2 separate regions of the Homo sapiens genome follow, and region 1 is linked to region 2. Evidence: promoter capture Hi-C in 16 types of primary human blood cells and fetal thymus (Javierre and others, 2016). All regions are on one chromosome and are shown on one strand. The core of a region is centred on a gene start or on the middle of the fragment in contact, and the rest is flanking DNA. Distances in the headings are between cores, read along the strand shown. Region 1 has its middle 35 kb from the start of CCL2. Region 2 holds the start of CCL8 (C-C motif chemokine ligand 8).

Region 1 (4,406 bases), core at 484-2,983, 100 kb before region 2:
TTGTTGCATTTTATTTGCTTTTATGTTCAGGTTTAATGACTTTTACAAGATAATTCTGTAAAGTCTGCATTTTTTGTCACATGTGGCCACTGAAATCTCTTATCAGCTTAGTGTTTAGCTAGTGACTGGATAGAAATTTCCTCAGACACTTGGGGCCAGTAAGTCTTTCAGTCTTTGCCAGGGAGCTCTGTGTGTTGGGGCTCACTTTCAACAACAGAAGGGCTGTTTACAACTCTGCCCTAGTGGGCTGGACGTGGTGGCTCACACCTGTAATCCCAGCACTTTGGTAGGCCAAGGTGGGTGGATCACTTGTGGTTAGGAGTTTGAGACCAGACTGGCCAACATAGTGAAACCTCATCTTTAATAAAAATACAAAAAAAAAAAAAAATTAGCCAGGCGTGGTGGCAGGTGCCTATAATTCCAGCTACTCCAGATGCTGAGGCAGGAGACTCTTTGAACCTGGGAGGCGGAGCTTGCAGTGAGCCGAGATCACGCCACTGCACTCCAGCCTGGGTGACAGAGCAAGACTCCATCTCAAAAAATAAAAAACCTACTCTGCCTTAGCTTTCACTTCCTGTTTGCTCAGTGCCTCAAATTTAGTCAGAGGTGAGAGCTTAGGGTCTTTTCAAGTCTTTCTGAGCATTTATACAGCCCTAAGCAGGTACAATGTCATATGTATGTGTGTGGCCTTCTAGATTTTGCATAGCTTTGTGAGGTGTTGATAATATCACTCAATGGTCTTTGAACTGAGGCTGAAAGATATTAAGAGACTTACTAAAGTACTCCATCAAGCAGTGAGAGATGCCAGATTTAAATCCAAAGTTATGCTCTTTCTTTTCCAAGAAGCAAGACCTCTGCAACTTCCATGGGTGTTCCTCTTCTGTGCTTTTTGGCAATCCTAGCTTTCACCCAGCATGGAATTCCTCCATACCAAGTTTGGGACTGAAAGATGAGCTCTTGGGGGTTGGCAAGTGTCTGGGGACAGAGACTTAAAGCCAAAGCTGATTGTAAGAAATCTCAAGGATGGGGGAAGGAAGTCTTGCCCCATGTGTGATGAGTGAGAGACAAGTAACTGCCTGTGCATCTGAGGACTGGGAGGACATTTGGGGCCATCACAGATGACTGTAGTCCTTTTTAAGAGCCAAGTCATTTCTTGGGCATGCATTACAGGGACCTGGCCCTATGACAAACACTTAGACTACAGTAGGTCTATAAAACAGCAAAAAGGAAATAAACAAACAAGCAAATCTCAGCCAATGAGTTACTGAAGTGGCGTATGATTTTAGAGTCTAAGATCCTAACTCCAAAGATCTACCAATTTGTTTTTCTTGAGTCTTTTCCATGGAATCATTGACAGGTGGTCACCTTCAATAACAGGGAACATATTACTTTCCAATCAACTCATTCCTTCTTCAGGCTCCTCTGCTTGTAGATAGAGAACCCAATACAGTGGAGGGAGCAGACTCCTCTGACTTCCAAGCTTTTGTTCTTGGCTTCAACCCTTTTAATCCATGTGGCTTTGCCAAGTCACTTCCCTTCTTTAAGTCTGTTTCTTCATCTGAAAAATGGAGAAAAAAAATTCCTGCTTGGCCAGGTTGCTTGAGTGTTGATGACATAAAGCTATTGAACTTACCTGGTAGAGGAGCACAATAGCGGTAGCCATTGTTGAAGTTCTTCCCTCTAAGAAACTAAAATCTTTGTCGCAGCAGTTTTCACCCAATGTTGTTAATTCTGCTCCTTTAGACCACTTCCCCAACTCATGCTTTCAGATTACTGCATACAGTGACTGTATTGCCTCTTTTTGGGTAGGCTAAACCACTCCACTCTTTAAAAACACTCCTCAATTATATGACCTTAACTCCTTTTACCACCCAATTTCCTCTCCTTTGAAGATAAGGCCCACTCTCTCCCCAGCTCATAATGTGTGAAGGTTTTCAGGCTGTCCTGGCCAGCAGAACAAGAAGAGTGAGATCCACTCCCTCATTCCAAAGCTTATACTTCTTGTAAAGCAACCCAAGCTCACCTTCATTTTCCTATTATGCTCACCTTCATTTTCCTATCCTGGGTCACATGTTTGCACCTAAATTTGTGAAGTACAAAGTCAGTATCTTTCCTATCCCTGCTAAAATGCATCTTGTTAGAGACAGCACAGTGTCCCAGGCTGCTGAGACCTCGATTCTCACATCTGTCTCAAAGCCTATAAATTGGCAAAAATAATGAGAATACATCGTATTACATCACCCAAGTTCTCCTCACTTTCCCACACTCTTCTACCCACCAATCGCAAATGTCCTGGGTAGATGAGCACCTGAGGCTATTTTAACAAGATTGAGAGTGAAGCCTGGAAAATGCTTAATTTAAACTTAAACCCACAAGTATTTGTTGAGTGCCTGATATGCAGCAGGCATTTGCAAACACAGTCTTCTGACCTTCACAACACTCCTCAGTGTGGAGTATCATAAACCCATTTTACAAATGGGAATCAAAGAAGTCAAGCAATTTGTACAAGATCACATAGCTAATAAGCTTCAAGGATATGGCACAAGTCTGGGAGGTTTGTTTGACTCCAGAACCCATATTATTTTCCTATCTTGTCTAGGTTTCTCATGCTGCTAATGGAGTCTATAAGCAGTTCTTAAAGTGCATGCAAATCACCTGAGAAATATGTTAAAAATGAAAGTCCACCCTCACCCCCCACATTCTGATTCAGTAGGTCTGGAGAGAGGCTCAGTCACCTTTAAGAAATGCTAGGTGATTCTGAGGCTAGTGGTTCACAGACAACACCTGCCTTGCCAGCTCAGCTACTGGGCACCAAAAGTCAATTCCCAAATATTGCTTTTGGACCAGCATAAATAATAACAGCCAGCCTTTCCTAGCTGAGAGAGATGGTCAGAGCTCTCCTCAGCCATTGTCTCTCATTGCTCCCATGGGATTTTTCAGCCTAGAGCCTAAATATTGCCTCCTTCTGTGACTTTTGACTTGCTTTCTAGATCTGGCCAGAGGAAGCAAGAAACCCTAGGTGTGGATGTTGCAATGGCAGATTATGTAACACCTCTGGAGTGCTCCCTGCATCACATAATCTCTGACAGTGGAAATGAGACCTTCCCAGGCTGCCTGTCCATGCCTTGTCCCAAACCATGAAAATGTACATAGAGCAACAAATGGCTGCTTGGCGCACCATGGCCCATAATCACTGCTTCCCATCCCCCTCACACCAAGACACTGCATCAGTCACCATTGGCATTTAAAGACATTTGCTTCACTGATCTTCTACCCTCCCCTATCTTTTTGCCTGTGGTCATCCAGGGCTGTTTCTTAAAGTCACCCCTCTCGGTCATGAGATTAAAAAGAGAAAACTGCCTCTTCCTTCCTTTTGGGATGTGAGTAATGATTGAATCCTTCTTGGGGTTAGCATGCCGCAATAAGGTTTCCGCGAAAGGATCTGAAGTTTAATAAGCTCATGGGCTCTCTGACTGCATTTTGTTTGTTCTACATGGCATGAAAAATTCAGAGACCAGGCTAAAATGTCTATGTAACTTAGAATAAACTACCTTACCTCCCTGAAATCTAGTTCCTTTATCAGTAAAATAGGGATAACAACCGTAACTGCCTCTTTGCTGTTGAGATCATTGAATAGAAACGTACGTACAAAGAGCTCAGCAAAGTTGTGGCACGGAGTAGGTGCTCCATGCATATTGTCATTGTTCTCTACATCTTGCTACACACAGTGCAGTCCCCAATGAGGCAGCATCTGCATCACCCTGGAGCTTGTTAAACATGCAGGATTTCATCCCCATCCCAGACCCATTCAACCAAAGTCTGCATGTTAACAAGTTCCCCAGGAATTGCAACCCACATTGAAGCTTGAGGAGCAGTGGTTAGATCACTATCCAGCAGGGTGAGAAGGCTGGGAATGGGGACAGTGACAGCTTTCTAGCTAACATTTTTATCTTTTTGCACTGCTTGCCACCCCTGCCACCCAGTGCCAAATTCACATTCCATCTTCCTGTATGAGTGATGGTACTAAAACAGAACTCTGGCCTCTTCACTCTTGCACATATAGATGGTTCCCTGATGCCTAAAGGATAAAGGACCAACTCTGTGGAGTGGCACGCAAGGCCCATCAGCATCTGGCCAGATCTTGTCTTTTCATCATTGTTCGATGCCCACTCTACAGCTGCAGATACTGTGCTGTGGCTACAATGAGAAATGTCTGTCATTCCCAAAGGCAGCCTTCACTTTCAGGCCTCCACTCCTCATTCTAGAGATGGTCCCTTCCCCAAGGGACACTCGGTCCTCTCATCACCTCCAAGTTTCCTCATGCTCCACTTCCTGGAACGTTCTCTGCCTCCAAAACCCTGTTCAGCATTCAAGGCTCGGCTCCACTGCTATTTTCAGAATATGTG
Region 2 (4,149 bases), core at 1,341-3,840:
ACCAGATAAAGACATTACAACAAAAGAAAACTATAAACCAACAGAAATCTATAAACCAAACTCATGAACAAAATTCTCAACAAAATATCAGCAAATAAAATCCGACAACATATAAAAAGAATTATAAGCTACAACCAAGTGGAATTTATTCCAGGTATGCAAGGCTGATCCAGCGTTCAAAAATTGGTTGATATAACCCATCATATCAACTTTCTAAAGAAGGAAAATCTTATTATAATATCAATAGATGGAAAATTTTTTTTGACACAATTCAACAGCCATTCATGATTTAAAAAAAAAAACTCTCAGCAAACTAGGAATAGAGGGATACTTCCTCAGCTTTATAGAGTGCATTAAAAAAGACCTACAGCAAATATCATACTTAATGGTGAGAAACTAGATATTTTTCTCCTAAGATTGAGTATAAGGCAAGGATGTTTCTTCTCACCACTCCAATTCAACATAATACTGGAAGGCCTAGCCAACACAACAGCACAAGACAAGAAAATAAAAATATATACAGATTAGAAAGAATAAATAAAACTGAATTTATTTGCAGAAGACATGATTGTCTGTGTAGAAAATTACAGAGAATCAGCAACAAAAAAAAGTCATGCCACTAATAAGCAATTTTAGCTACAGGATACAAGGCTAATAGATAAAATTCAATAACTTCCTGTATATCAGCAATGAGCAACTAGAATTTGAAATTAATACACAATACTATTTACATTAACACCAATAAAATGAAGTGTTTAGAAATTAGTCTAAGATGTACAATATATATGAGGGAAACTACAAACTTCTGATGAAAGATTAAAGACGATCTAAATAAATGAAGAGATATTCCACATGTATGGATAGGTGGAGTTAATGTTGTCAGCATGTCAGTTCTTCCCAACTTGATCTGTACCTTCAACACAATCCCAGTCCAAATCCCAGCAGGTTCTTTTTGGATGTGATAGACTGATTTTAATGTTTATATGGAAAGGTTAAAGATCTAGAATAGCTAACACAGTACTGAAAAAGAATAGTCAGAGGACTAACATTACCCAACTTCAAGATTTACTATTAGGAAACAGTAATCAAGACGGTGTGGTATTGGTGAAAGAATAGACAAATGGATCAATGGAACAGAATAGAGAGCCCTCAACAGATGAATGGATACATAAAATGTACTATATACATACAAGGGAATATTACTCAGCCTTAAGGATATGTAGCATATCATATGCTGCCACATAGATGAACCCTGAGATCCTTACGCTAAATGACATAAGCCAGTCACAAAAGAAAAATACTATATGATTTCACTCACATGAGGTAGTTAGAGCAGTCAAAATCAGAAACAGTAAGTAGAAATGGTGGTTGCCAGGGGCTTGGGGGAGGGGAAACTGGAGATCAATAGGTATAGAATTTCTGTTTACAGATGAAAAGAGTTATTGAGACTGTTGCACAACAGTGTGAATGTTCTTAATGCCACTAAACTATGCACTTAAAAATGGTTAAGATGGTATGTGCATTTTTACCACAATAAAAATAATAAATGAATAAAGAACAAAGGAAGTAATTAGCTATCAAACCACAACAAGGCACGGAGAAACCTTAAATGCATATTGCTTAGTGAAAGAAGCCAGTCTGAAAAGGCTGCCTACTATATGATTCCAACTATGCATATGATACTTGGGAAAAGACAAGCTCACAGAGATAGTAAAAAGATCAGTGGTAGCCAGAGATTTGTGGAGAGGAAAAAGGATGAATAGAAGAATACAGTGAATTCTTAGAGCAGGAAAACTTCTATATGATATTGTAATGATGGATAGATCAGGCCTGCAGGGGGAGTAGATGAGGTCAGTCTTTTGCAAACCTGGTTCCTTCTTGCCACGCCCCGCCCACAGCCCCACTGTGTGTGAACCAAGAGAGTTGGAAGGCCTTCTGCAGACGGACCCATTCCACCTGAATCTCCATGACATATTGGACTTCTCCATATAATTTCATTTGGAAAGAAACTTGAGCATCTAAATAAAATGTTTGGAAACCACCATGCTACAAGACCAGCATGTGCTGTCTAGTTCTTACCCTCTGCAACAGTAAGATTCTGGGGCATTAAGACTTAGTTCCAGGATTCTGTCATTCTGCCAACGTTCTGTGGCTGGGGTTCTAAAGGAGCTTGCCTGGCTTAGAACTGCAAGTGACTCTAGTGTGATGGAGAGCACCAGCAAAGCCTTAGGGCCCATCCCTGGCCTCCTGTTACCCACAGAGGGGTAGGCCCTTGGCTCTCTTCCACTATGACGTCAGCTTCCATTCTTCCTTTCTTATAGACAATTTTCCATTTCAAGGAAATCAGAGCCCTTAATAGTTCAGTGAGGTCACTTTGCTGAGCACAATCCCATACCCTTCAGCCTCTGCTCCACAGAGCCTAAGCAAAAGATAGAAACTCACAACTTCCTTGTTTTGTTATCTGGAAATTATCCCAGGATCTGGTGCTTACTCAGCATATTCAAGGAAGGTCTTACTTCATTCTTCCTTGATTGTGACCATGCCCAGGCTCTCTGCTCCCTATAAAAGGCAGGCAGAGCCACCGAGGAGCAGAGAGGTTGAGAACAACCCAGAAACCTTCACCTCTCATGCTGAAGCTCACACCCTTGCCCTCCAAGATGAAGGTTTCTGCAGCGCTTCTGTGCCTGCTGCTCATGGCAGCCACTTTCAGCCCTCAGGGACTTGCTCAGCCAGGTAAGACCTCTCCCTTTTTAAGGGGAGACCAAAAGAGGAATTAAGAAGAGCCATTATGTCACAGCTCATTAGGAACAAAACCAGAACTAAAGGCTCAGGTCACTGAGGCTGGTTCCCTTGATCTTTCCTGACCCCAGTTTTGGGAGGAGACAGTGGAGCCGCTACAGCAACAACCCTCCCATTGTTTGGGGAAATAATCCAGAACGAAGAACTGTTTCTCACTGTGGGTGTAAAGGACATTTCAGGCCGTAGTGGAGAGGGAGAAACTATTGCCTGAAGCTTCAAATTTTGGTTATGGTTCAGTGTACCTTCCAGAACAGTGGCTGTGTAAAGAGGATGAGGACCCAGAGGAATCTCAGCGTATGGCATAGGCTAACTCTAAAGCCCATGAGGATGAAAGACTGGGAAGCAAGGTATTGGAACTTATGTTCCCAGTGTCAGAAGTTTTGGGTTAGTAGACAAGGACTAGCTTGTTACTCAAAATGTTTCCAAACCCAGTCAACAATGACGGGCCGCAGAGTTCAATAGAGGAAAGAGACTCACAGGCAACATTTTATCTCTGGGATCTGGACTAAGACACTGAACTTGGGATGGTGACTTCTTGGTCTTCTCCTTCCTTCTCTTCTTTTCCTTACAAATGCACACTTACGGTGGGTCCTAAATGTCTCATTCTTTGCAAAATTTCTTTCAGATTCAGTTTCCATTCCAATCACCTGCTGCTTTAACGTGATCAATAGGAAAATTCCTATCCAGAGGCTGGAGAGCTACACAAGAATCACCAACATCCAATGTCCCAAGGAAGCTGTGATGTGAGTGGACAGTGCCTGGCACCCCCATTCAAAAGTTCTGATGGACAACATAGAGAAGTCAAGATTCATGTCCATATGAGTCGGATGCATATAACTTCTATCCAAAGGGCCCCTCTACCCCATAGAGAAACTCAGTCCATGAGAAGGAGTCCATAACTGCTCTAGGATTCCCTTCTAGGGGCTTGGTGAAACTAACCCAATATCTGTAGCCAGGACCCTGGAGGGTTTCACCTGGACAGCAAGAGCAGAGCTTCCTTCTGGAGCTTCTTCCTCCCACTCTTCCCCTCCCTCCTCTCCCGGGTCCGGGTCCTTCACCTAAGGACCAAGGGCTGATCAGTTCTAGGGACCAATGGCCCACAGTCCTGTGCAGGATCTTCAAAGTCTTCCATCTAATTGTGCCCTCTCTCCCCCACAGCTTCAAGACCAAACGGGGCAAGGAGGTCTGTGCTGACCCCAAGGAGAGATGGGTCAGGGATTCCATGAAGCATCTGGACCAAATATTTCAAAATCTGAAGCCATGAGCCTTCATACATGGACTGAGAGTCAGAGCTTGAAGAAAAGCTTATTTATTTTCCCCAACCTCCCCCAGGTGCAGTGTGACATTATT

Evidence for each region. The method cuts DNA at HindIII sites, captures the fragments that hold promoters and counts their contacts. A CHiCAGO score of 5 or more calls a contact.
Region 1: a fragment that was not itself captured here is called in contact with the fragment with the promoter of CCL8 in region 2 in 1 of 17 cell types (monocytes); the score reaches 5.9 in monocytes.

Annotation. Positions count from the first base shown.
Region 1 is chr17:34,217,864-34,222,269 of GRCh38, forward strand. No RefSeq gene overlaps it. Among named protein-coding and RNA genes, the nearest start is that of CCL2, 35 kb to the right of the region's middle. The HindIII fragment of the contact is 511 bases long and covers 1,479-1,989 here.
Region 2 is chr17:34,316,845-34,320,993 of GRCh38, forward strand. CCL8 (C-C motif chemokine ligand 8) reads left to right here and starts at 2,591. Exons shown (of 3, transcript NM_005623.3): 1 at 2,591-2,733; 2 at 3,425-3,542; 3 at 3,958-4,149. The coding sequence starts at 2,658. The coding sequence ends at 4,063. The HindIII fragment of the contact is 3,664 bases long and covers 1-3,010 here.